Linked DNA regions of Homo sapiens: all the other regions are linked to region 2. The links are contacts of gene promoters, found by promoter capture Hi-C in blood cells and fetal thymus (Javierre and others, 2016). All regions are on one chromosome and are shown on one strand. The core of a region is centred on a gene start or on the middle of the fragment in contact, and the rest is flanking DNA. Distances in the headings are between cores, read along the strand shown. Region 1 overlaps AGAP1 (ArfGAP with GTPase domain, ankyrin repeat and PH domain 1). Region 2 holds the start of GBX2 (gastrulation brain homeobox 2). Region 3 overlaps AGAP1 (ArfGAP with GTPase domain, ankyrin repeat and PH domain 1).

What was found. Contacts are between HindIII fragments. The CHiCAGO score rates a contact against its expected background, and 5 or more counts as called.
Region 1: a contact is called between a fragment that was not itself captured here and the fragment with the promoter of GBX2 in region 2, in 6 of 17 cell types (megakaryocytes, M1 macrophages, M2 macrophages and 3 more). The highest score is 9.7, in megakaryocytes.
Region 3: a fragment that was not itself captured here is called in contact with the fragment with the promoter of GBX2 in region 2 in 1 of 17 cell types (endothelial precursors); the score reaches 7.3 in endothelial precursors.

What each region holds. Positions count from the first base shown.
Region 1 is chr2:235,757,114-235,760,832 of GRCh38, reverse strand. All of the region lies in intron 6 of AGAP1 (ArfGAP with GTPase domain, ankyrin repeat and PH domain 1), which reads right to left. The region is part of intron 3 of LOC105373942 (a long non-coding RNA gene); the gene reads left to right. Among named protein-coding and RNA genes, the nearest start is that of TNRC17, 240 kb to the right of the region's middle. The HindIII fragment of the contact is 2,788 bases long and covers 959-3,719 here.
Region 2 is chr2:236,166,432-236,170,006 of GRCh38, reverse strand. GBX2 (gastrulation brain homeobox 2) reads left to right here and starts at 1,621. Exons shown (of 2, transcript NM_001485.4): 1 at 1,621-2,558; 2 at 3,570-3,575. The coding sequence starts at 2,036. It overlaps GBX2-AS1 (GBX2 and ASB18 antisense RNA 1), which reads right to left and starts at 2,565. Exons shown (of 2, transcript NR_186035.1): 1 at 2,338-2,565. It overlaps LOC124906126 (a long non-coding RNA gene), which reads right to left and starts at 981. Exons shown (of 2, transcript XR_007088136.1): 1 at 623-981; 2 at 211-478. RefSeq lists an enhancer at 2,490-3,442. The HindIII fragment of the contact is 5,712 bases long and covers 820-3,575 here.
Region 3 is chr2:235,825,011-235,828,811 of GRCh38, reverse strand. All of the region lies in intron 9 of AGAP1 (ArfGAP with GTPase domain, ankyrin repeat and PH domain 1), which reads right to left. Among named protein-coding and RNA genes, the nearest start is that of TNRC17, 310 kb to the right of the region's middle. RefSeq lists an enhancer at 448-1,647. The HindIII fragment of the contact is 3,002 bases long and covers 173-3,174 here.

The DNA.
Region 1 (3,719 bases), core at 1,103-3,602, 410 kb after region 2:
GAGGATCACTTGAGACCAGGAGCTGGAGACTGGATTTGGCAATACATCGAGACCCTCATCTCTACAAAAATTTTGAAAAATGACCTGGGCATGGTGGCATGCACCAGTAGCGCTAGCTACTCAGGAGACTGAGGTAGGAGGATGGCTTGAGCCCAAGAGTCTGAAACTGCAGTGAGCTATGATGGCATCACTGTACTCCAGCCTGTGTGACAGATCGAGATCCTGTCTCAATTAAGAAATAATAATAAAAAGAAAGGGCAACTCTAAACAAGAAACAAGCTGATTTCATACTTCTAAGATGAAATAATTGAAATAATATTCAAAAACACTTGGATGATTTAAGGATAATCACCTCAAGCACATTCTCAAATTACTCCTGAAAATGTCTGGTGTAGCTTCATAACGAATTCTATCTTACACATTTGTATTTATTTTGTTTTTGGTTTTGTTTTTTGAGACGGAGTCTCGCTCTGTCGCCCAGGCTGGAGTGCAGTGGCGTGATCTCAGCTCACTGCAACCTCCGCCTCCCGGGTTCAAGAGATTCTCCCTCCTCAGCCTCCCGAGTAGCCGGGACTACAGGCACACGCCACCATGCCTGGCTAATTTTTGTATTTTTAGAGAGGGGGGTTTCGGCATGTTGGCCAGGCTGGTCTCAAACTCTTGACCTCAGGTAATTCGCCTGCCTCAGCCTCCCAAAGTGCTTAGATTACAGCTGTGAACCTCTGCGCCCAGCCCATCTTCTGTATTTGTATTTACCGAGTGAATATGGAAGATTTTTGTCTCAGTTGATGTGCCAGAAGCTTCTCTCATCAGTAAAACATGTGCTTTTATAGCTTCATGAGGGTAAGAATTTTTCAACCCAAACTAATTTTTTTCTAAAAATAGTAACTCAAAAGTATTTTTCATTTTGTTGGATTTTTTTAAACCTCTGAATGTATGGTTTACTATACAAAAAGCTTTATTTTAGTTTTGGTATTAATTTGCTATTTCAGTTTATAATTTAACCCTGTTGTAGAAAGAGCTTCTTTGGTTAAGAACTGAATTCGAAAATGCATATGAAGAAAGGAGTTGACAATGTCATGTTTCATAAAAATGATCACCATCAAACATTTATGTATTTTCCCATCCAAATATAAACCAGGGATATGGCATAAGAGAAAGACCCACACAAACCCACCAAGGCTTCTTCCTCACATGTGCGCCCCCACCAACAGGCTGAATCAAGTCTCCTTACAGTCAACAGCAGGTCTGCACCTCTCCCATTCGCTGGGAGATAAGCTACTAGGCAGGTCAGATGTGGCTCTTCTGGAGACCATCTGCAGATTCTCACATGCACTGGATGGCCCTACATGTGAAGCTGCCAGGGCCGGGCGCGGTGGCTCACGCCTGTAATCCCAGCACTTTGGGAGGCCAAGGCGGGCGGATCACGAGGTCAGGAGATCAAGACCATCCTGGCTAACACGGTGAAAGCCCGTCTCTACTAAAAATACAAAAAAATTAGCCGGGCGTGGTGGCAGGCGCCTGTAGTCCCAGCTACTTGGGAGGCTGAAGCAGGAGAATGGTGTGAACCCAGGAGGTGGAGCTTGCAGTGAGCTGAGATCACACCACTGCAGTCCAGCCTGGGTGACAGAGCGAGACTCCATCTCAAAAAAAAAAAAAAAAAAAAAAGAATGACATCAACAACCCTAGGGCTAACGACACCAGAATGTCTCCCAAACCAGCATCAAACCCCCTTATATGACCGGGTGCCATGGCTCATGCCTGTAATCCCAGCACTTTGGGAGGCTGAGGCGGTCGGATCGCTTTGAGCTCAGGAGTTCGAGACTAGGCTGGGCAACATGGCAAAACCCCATTTCTACTAAAAATACAAAAACTAGCTGGGTGTGCTGGCACGCACCTGTAATCCCAGCAACTTGGGAGGCTGGGGCGGGAGGACGGCTTGAGCCCAGAAGGCAGAGGTTGCAGTGAACCAAGATTGTGTCACTGCACTCCAGCTTGTGTGACAGTGAGACATTGTCTCAAAACAAAACAAAAACAACACGCCTTACGTGACTTGATCATTTAACTCTTGAAGAATGTTTTCTGCTCAGCCCCCAACCCCCATTTGTATTGGTACCGCATAAGTGCTGCCAGAGCCTTACAGAGGTCACTTTCTTCATGTCATCTTTGTTCTCAGAAAATGTTCAAATATGAACCCCCTTAATGAAGTGTAATTTAAGCAGCTGAACCTCTTTCATACTGTCCCAATACACATCTACCACCCATCTGTCCCAGGAAGTCTTAGAAATAAGACTTTCAATGTGTGGAGGGGGTGAGGGTGTAGAGACGGGGACAGTGATGAGTACAGGTGCACAGCCAAGACCACAGGTAGAAACGGGAAATGATGGCCTCGCCTGACACCAGCTGCACCATGTACCTCTGGGAAGGCAGCATTTCCAACAATGTAGTCCCAGCTGTAAACTGGGCCTAATAAGATCCACTATCCTACATCATAAGCCGTTAAATTGTTGCATAATTATTAGTCATTACTACAAGTGATTAAAAAATGGACAATTAATGACCCATTAATCCACCTTTTCAACATATATCAAGTGCCTAATGTACACATATACATGGCTTGCTTTCAAGTGTAAAAAATCTTATTTTTTGAAGTATTCCCTCGCTAACACACATATACACACACACATGCACGCATGCACACACACACTAGTTCCAATCTAATCTGTAATAAAGGAGAAAAAAATAGCAACAAAAACAAATCATAAAACAGGCCACCCCGACAATGAAAATTAAGCTGATTTCAGGAAAGAATGGAATAGGCTTAACTGATACATCCTTTAACAGCACAAGGACTGTGGTGTGAGCAAAACAAAATGGTCCAAGATGATGCAGGACCCAGGAGAAGAGGCCCAGAAGACTGCTTACATTCACAGATGCTCTAGTGCGTGCAATTAGGTTGCACAAACGGACTCATTAACATAGCTCCCCTGGTTCTGGACACTCCTGTAATTAGGACCAGGCAGCTGCAGCCATTTAATGTGAGATGGGGTTCTTTGCACACACCAGGATTTCAATCTCTGGAAGCAAAGCATCAAGAGCACACCGAGGCTCCCTGACTTCCCGCACAACCTTGGTAAAAATCATGCAACCTCTCCCAGCTCGGGCTCTCGGCATGGGTTAGATAGGCCCAGGTGAGCCGTTACTGGGAAGGGACAAAAGACAAATGGAATGGCTTCTATAAAAGTGCTTTCCAGAATGTTAACTGCAGCACAAACATAAAAAGCCAGGGGCAATGAGGTCAAAGGACTGACATGGATCTGCCTAGACCAGGAACTACTCTACCAGATAAACACCCATCCACCAGGACGATGTACACAGCGTGTGAACAGAGGAAGCCCTAATAAGCCACAAGGCTGTGGCCACACTAGCACCTGGCACACAGAGCCCGGGAGCACTAGCACCTGGCACACAGGGCCCGGGAGCGCTAGCACCTGGCACACAGCGCCCTTCCAGTGCCACTGCCCAGCTTTCCCATACACCTAGAACCTACTGTCTCTCCCTCCACAATAATGCAGATCTGTTCTAGGACAGAAGTCTATGTGAGATCACCAAACTGGCCCTGGAGACCGTTAAGCAGAGAGATGATAATTTGTAATTTATCTCTTTGACATGGATCTTGACCTGGTCTAACAACTACTATCAAAGTTCTGCATGTAGGT
Region 2 (3,575 bases), core at 372-2,871:
CGGCGGACCAGCGAGTTTTCCCAGCGTCCCGGGGCGCCAAGGACACACCCTCCCCTCTTTCCTCCAGGTCTGCTGGGTGGGCAGTGGGTCTCCGGCGGGACTCCTGGCAGAGGAGCTGATCTGGGATTAAGACGTCCCCCGGGGGGCCTTGGGGCTAGAGCGAGAGAAAGAGGAAGAACGCGAAAAAAGAGCTTCAAAGAATCGGGTCGATAAATTCATAAAGATCGATTTATCTTTATCTCCCAATTAAATGTGCTTGTAAGTGATACATAACACACGTCCAACACGGGCCAACTCCCCAACCACTAGCTCCTCGGCGTGAGCTGATTTTTAATGACCGAACTAACAATGCCCTTCTTTCCTTCTCCCCAACCCGGTGCTGTTGGCGGTTCAGGGCTGACGTCTAGACCCGGGAAGTTGAAGCCCGGGCCTTGGAGACTCGAGGAAGCCCCGCTCGCGCTGGTGCGCTCTGCACGGTCTGCCGTTGTCAAGAAGTGATTCCATTTTTAAAGGGAAGACAAGAGCTGAAAGTTTTTTGTTTGAAAATGGAAGAGGGGATAAGTACGTCCCTAGTTTCCCTCCACCCCAAAATTCCCTTACTTTCAAATTTGGGGGTCTTTACCGTTGTCGAGAACAGGGGAAACATCCTGAGGGGATCGGCTCCATCCTGCAGTTAGCAAAGAGGAACCGCGCGCCCTCGAGTCCTCGCGCTGGAAACCGGGCGGCGGCGCCAGGGTGAGCACTCCTTGCGTTCGCAACGTGCTTAATTAGCGCCTATTTACAAAACGCAGCTTTTATTTGAGCAAACATCATAAAGCTTTCATCAGGATAATCTCACGTTATACAATCTGGAGGCACAGCAACTCCCCCCTTCCTCCCCGAGGATGGAGCAGATAAAGGACTCTCTTTATTATCATAATTATCGTGGTTGTTATTTTGGTGCGCGCTGGCAAAGTGTGTAAATAGGTGCGATGATTAAGAATGTCATGAAAAATGAGAGACGGGATCGCTCACGGGAGGGCCCAGCCCGGGATGGGGGAAGCAGCAGCCTCCCCGCCCCACCCGGTGCGCGGACCTACAGCGAGCAACCCGGCGGGTTTCTGGCGGCGGGCAGGCGCTGCCAGCTCCCAGCCTTCGCCCCGGGGGTGGCTCCGGAGGGGCAGGACCCTGCCCCCAACTCCAGGACCCTCGCCCGGACCCCAGGCGCAGCCGGAGCACCCAGCGCTGGAGTGAGCCGCAGGCAGGTTGGTTCCATGGCAAATACAGTAAAAGAAATAAAGCGCCCCCGGCCCAGCCGTGGGGGTGCGGGCCCCGGAGGCTACCCTTCGAGGTGGCCTCGACAAGGCTGCAGGGCCCCAAGGTCCGAGCCTTGGAGGTGCCATCCGCCCGTCTCAAGTTTGCGCGGCACGGGCTAGGCATGCAGGCTCCGGCTCCCCGGCCCGCGCGCTCCGACGGTGGCGCCCGCAGCCCGCTCGAGGCCAGCTTGGGTGGAAAGGGCGGGGCCCCGCTTTCGCCCCACCCCCGCCCCGCTCAGCCAATGGCCAGAGGCGCCCAGCCCCACGTGAGGCGAGCCGGGCCAGGCGGCAGGCAAAATGTGAATGAGAAAGAGGAGCGCGATTTAAAGGTGCTGGCTGCGCCCGCCGGAGATAAGTACGCCGGCTTCGCGCGCTCCCCAGCGGCCCGCGGGAGGCGACGGACGGCGGGACGGACGGACGGACGGCAGCTTACCGGGGCCGAGGGCCAAACCCGCGAAGCGCGCGGGCTCCGACGGGCAAGCGGCGGACGGGGGCTCCGGCGAGCCCTCGGGGCCCGGGCGCCCTCTCCACTCCGGGGCGCACGGCCTCACCCCGCACACCCCCTGCACCCGCCCGGCATGCAGCGGGCCCAGGACTGAGGGGCGGAGGCGTCTGCTCTCCGGGTCCCGCTCGGCCCCTGCCCGGCGCTCCCGGCGGTGCTCCCGGCGTCCGGCGGGCTTCCCGGCGGCGGCGCGGCGCGGGGACTTTTCGCCTCTCGCTGGCCTCTACCGAGCGCGTCTATGAGCGCAGCGTTCCCGCCGTCGCTGATGATGATGCAGCGCCCGCTGGGGAGTAGCACCGCCTTCAGCATAGACTCGCTGATCGGCAGCCCGCCGCAGCCCAGCCCCGGCCATTTCGTCTACACCGGCTACCCCATGTTCATGCCCTACCGGCCGGTAGTGCTGCCGCCGCCGCCGCCGCCGCCGCCCGCGCTGCCCCAGGCCGCGCTGCAGCCAGCGCTGCCGCCCGCACACCCTCACCACCAGATCCCCAGCCTGCCCACAGGCTTCTGCTCCAGCCTGGCGCAGGGCATGGCGCTCACCTCTACGCTCATGGCCACGCTCCCCGGCGGCTTCTCCGCGTCGCCCCAGCACCAGGAGGCGGCAGCGGCCCGCAAGTTCGCGCCGCAGCCGCTGCCCGGCGGCGGTAACTTCGACAAGGCGGAGGCGCTGCAGGCTGACGCGGAGGACGGCAAAGGCTTCCTGGCCAAAGAGGGCTCGCTGCTCGCCTTCTCCGCGGCCGAGACGGTGCAGGCTTCGCTCGGTGAGTCGGCGGCGCGCGCAGCCGGGACGAGGGGGCGGGAGGAGGCGGGGGCGGGCCAGCGCCGGGTTCCCGCGGGAGACCAAGGGGGCGAGGCCGCGCCCCCGCTCGACCCCCGCGGGAGGAGCTGGAGGATGAGGCCCGGCTGTGCCGCTGGGCCTCCGGGGGACATTCAGAGCCACCCAACAAGCGGGGTCTCGGGAGGGGGGGCGTTTAGCGCCCGGCGACCAGCTGCTGCCCTGGGCCACATATCTATCTGACGATGCGTTTGGCCGAGGCCGCCTCTGCCGCTCCGCGGTGACCTGGGGTTCCGGGTAGGTTGCAGCCTCTAGGGGAGACGGGTTGGGCTGCGCGTCTCAGCCGTGCGTGTGCCCAGGGGCGCCCAGACTTTTTAAACCCCTTCGCTGGTCTTGCTACTTGTCTGGGAGAAACGGACTGCTGGGAGGCTGTGCCTGTGTGTTTGTGTTGGGGGTGTCTGGTGGGAACTTATAAGGCCACAAAACATCCCTTTGACCAACGTTGTCTGTCTCAAAAAAGATGGTCTGGGATCTGCACGTCCCTACGCCTCCACTCCGGTTAGGAAGCAATTGAGGTTCACTACATTTTCATGGTGGCGGTGGGGGGAGGATGAATCGTGAATCCCCCCATCAGTCCTCAACCAGTCCCCACCCCAGGGACAAAGCGGGCAATCTCTTGGGCCTCGCGCCTCCTGCTACTTCTCCTGACGCTGCCGAGGCTGGGAGGGTGCGGGGGAGGCATGGCGGCCCTTTGAGTGATGGTTCTGGGCAAAGGGCCGTCGCCTGTACTGCCTCCTCTCCTTTGAGCTTTCTCACGCTCCCCCCACCCCTCCTCTACCCCTCAAAGGCCAGGAAATCACAATGTGTTAATGTCATAGAAAGACAATCCGCTAAAGGGTGGGGGGCGGGGGGCGCGGAATGTCCAAATGACGGTGGGAAGGAGAAAGGAAGGCCAGTGTGCGAAATGTAATAAAATGCCGTTTGGTTTTGCTTTCAGTCGGGG
Region 3 (3,801 bases), core at 424-2,923, 340 kb after region 2:
CGTGTGGTTTAGCGTGTCCTCAACGTGTCAACCAGGGACATCTCATGACATCCGAGCAACATGTGGACCCAACAGTCTTGGGATGGACTTTGAAAAGGCTGGGTGAGCGAAAGCTTCTGGAATTTGCTCCATGACATTCCACTCTTAGGGCAACATGCTCTCAAAGTAAGCTTGAGCCTAAATTCTACCCTGGACTACCCTCTACGTTTCCAATTCCAGAGGTTTATCAATTAAGACATACACACCCCTGGGCAAGACCTCCCCAGGTATTTTCTGCCTTCTCATAGAACAAACGTGACTCGTGGGCAGTTCCATACAATGCATAAGTGTTAGTTTACCACTCCCAGGCTGAGTGACATTGAGTAAGTGGCTCAACTTCTCTGAGCATTCATTCTGTCTGTGAAATGGGGATTATGCTATTATCCCTCCTAAGGTGGTTGTGAGAATTGAGATTTTTCATTACATAAATATTTACTGAGAGCTACTCTAGGGGTCTGGGATACACTGGTGACCAAAAAAAGAAATTCCCAACATGGGGTGCTTATGTTCCAGTGGGCTGCCACAGAAAGGGGTCGGCCTAGTGCAGAGGAATGCTCATTTCACTGAGTTCAAAATACTTCCTCTTCCATCAATTCCTGTAGCCAAGAAAGATACTCGAATTTAATCCCATTATTTCCCAGAAACATGAGAACAAGCCAGAAAACATTTGTCCCCAGGAAACCAAAATTCAGGATCCCCATCTGCTCTCATCTTTCTCTGGGATACTTGTTGTAAGTCTGTCAAAATGCAGCCCCTACTGCACCGTCAGGACCCACAGTGGCTGGGCAAGCCTCAGTCCTGGAGTCCCGCAGGCTGGCCTGCTCCAGAAACCAGCGCTTCCCAGAAGCCAGTGCAGCCTCCCTCGCAGCCCAGCCCTCCGGGCCTCTCCCCACAGGCATGCTAGCAACATCCCAGCAGGCGCAAAGCATTCCAGAGTGAAGGCAGCCACCCCTGAAAACACCCCTCTATCTTCAAGGCCTACATTTCTCCAGTATTCTGACAGCTTTTAGTACGGGCAAGCTATGTTAAAGGAAAGCCTCCCTGACTAACCTTGGAAGTGTAGTTCAATGCCGGTGACGATTCAGCCGTGGATGTTACTCTTAGGCGTGCCACCTGTGACTCATGCTCAGAGGGTAGAATGGGGGCCACAGCCACACCCTCTCCCCTTCCTTCCAAGGGCTGCAGCAAAGTATCCTGGCACACTAAGGAACTTTTAAAAGTCATTGATAAGGCTCATTAATGTATCAAAATGTCACCTACTCAATGTGAACCATTAAAAATTATTAGTACAAGTATTAGTAGAAATAGTCATTAAAGTGCAGAAATACCAGGAGAAATATCAAGTAGAAATATTCATCACCTTGGAGCTACGCCGGCAGCCCCCTTACCTCCTGCTCCAAGCCCTTCAGCCACGTGGGTCAGGAGCTGTGCCCTGTGGTCTCAGCCCTCAGGTCAAAGCCCTGAAACCTCAGGGTGAGCAAGGAGAGTCTGCGTGGAGAATCAATTTCACTCAAACACTTGGAGAAAAACAGCAATGTTAACTCACAAATAATAGAAAGTATATTCAAACACGTGATGCATGTATGAAGCAGAAAGTAAAAGTCACACATATTTTTAAAATAAGACGTTGCAGCTGTGTCCTCTCATCTTGAAGGGGATGTATTTCCTCTCCTCTGCAATCTGGGGAGACGCACAAGCCGCACTACAAACCCGCCCAGGGGTGAAGAGCTCCCCTCCTCCTTGCCCTGCTTAGGATGAGCCATGGATCTGGTACTGAATTCTCCAACACGCGGAGCCACCGTATCTGAAAAGTGCAGGTACTTTTCTCTAACTTAATCAAAGTTAGTGAACAATAGGAGGAAGGAGATATGAAATCATTGCTTTGGAGGCTGTTTGGCCAAATTTGTGTGTTTTAGAAACATTCTGTGGAGAAAAGTGACGAAGACAGCCAGCCACCTCCACAGGAACTTCGTGAAGAAACTCTCAGGGTGGCTAATGTTGCAAAAAAACATTTTTAAAAAGATATGGGGAAGCAAGCCGTGTGCAGTGGCTCACACCTGTAATTCCAGCACTTTGGGAGGCTGAGGCGGGTGGTAGGAGTTCGAGCCCACCCTGGCCAACATGGTAAAACCCCGTCTCTACTAAAAATACAAAAATTAGCTGGGTGTGGTGGCGGGCGCCTGTAATCCCAGCTACTTGGGAGGCTGAGGCAGGAGAATCACTTGAACCTGGGAGGTGGAGGTTGCAGTGAGCCGAGATCGTGCCACTGCACTCCAGCCTGGGTGACAGAGCAGCAAGACTCTTGTCTCAAAAAAAGGAGTGGGGGTGGGGGAAGAAAAAAAAAGATATGTGAAACGGAGCAACGGAGACGAAAGTAGAAAGAATGAACCTGCAAATGCATGGTTATGCAGCTGATGGTTACCTTTCCTTATCCCTGCTCAGGCCCTGTATCTGCCCAAGCAGCATCTCTGAGTTGGCAGAGGTTAGACTTTTGGGGCCCTTAATAAGCCATGCTCATGAGGAAAACTAGGTCACCCTATTTGGGGGTAACCTGAAAGGAATCTATGAGGGATAAAGAGCATGCCAACGCTCTGCCATCCAGTAAGCAAACGGTGTGTTCCTTCTCCTTCTACTGGAGCCAACAACTAAGCAGGTGGCTCTTTCATCACAGGGCATGGCGCCACGTTAGCATGGTTTCGCACACCTCCTCTTCCACGCTGGGTGCAGCAACAATTGAGAGGGTTTCTATTTTTTTTTTTCTGTTTTTAATTTTTTGAGTACATAGTAGGTGTATATATTTATGAGGCACATGAGATGTTTTGATACAGGCATGCAATGTGAAAGCAGCACACTGTGGAGAATAAGGTCTCCATCCTCTCATTTATCCATTGGGTTACAAACAATCCAATGACACTCTTTTAAGTTATTTTTAAATGTATAGTTATTACTGACTAAAGTCACCCTGCTGTGCTATCAAATAGTAGGTCTCATCCATTCTATTTTTTGGACCTAGAGAGGGTTTTAACATTTCAAATTAAACACTATTTTTTATTGTATATACTGACCAACATGCAAACATATTTGATAAATTAGTAATTGTGTTCAATGTATATTTAGTTCTAGCCATCTTAAGCTTTTTAATGAAGACTTTGCTGGATACATTTTTCTGCTTCACCTAACTGAAAATAAAATACTACCATCTACTTTTAAAAGCAGACACTGAAATAATGCACATGATTTTTGCCCCAGTTAAGCAAAAGCATAATGATATTTATATGCATAAGTGATCACGGGAAGGGCAATAGAAAAAAATAACGGACTGGCCTAAAATGAATAATAATAGTTTTCAAAAACTCGTTAATGCTGCTTTTCAGGCCATAAGCACGGCCAACAAGATATTAAAAATGTTTTCCTCAAAATGAAGCCACAGCCACCATGGTGGCAGCTGTTCAAAGGGTCGTTGGATCTTCCACTGGAAATTCAAAAGGATAACGGTTTCTGCATCTTTCACATTAGCAGCACCAATATGTGCATCATTTCAGTGTCCTCTCCCCTCGGTCAAGAAGGAAGGGGTCTGGAGACGGGAGCCTGCATCCAGGAAGCCTGGGAGGCTCCCTCTGACCCACGATGGCTGTCTCTCCTTCTATCCACACTCAATTTCAACAAGGAGAAACAGGTCTCATTTTCTTTCAATATCATTTTCAGTAGCAATTTGCACTTTTCTACAAATGGTCTTTCATATGGTTATTCTTGCTGAATTGC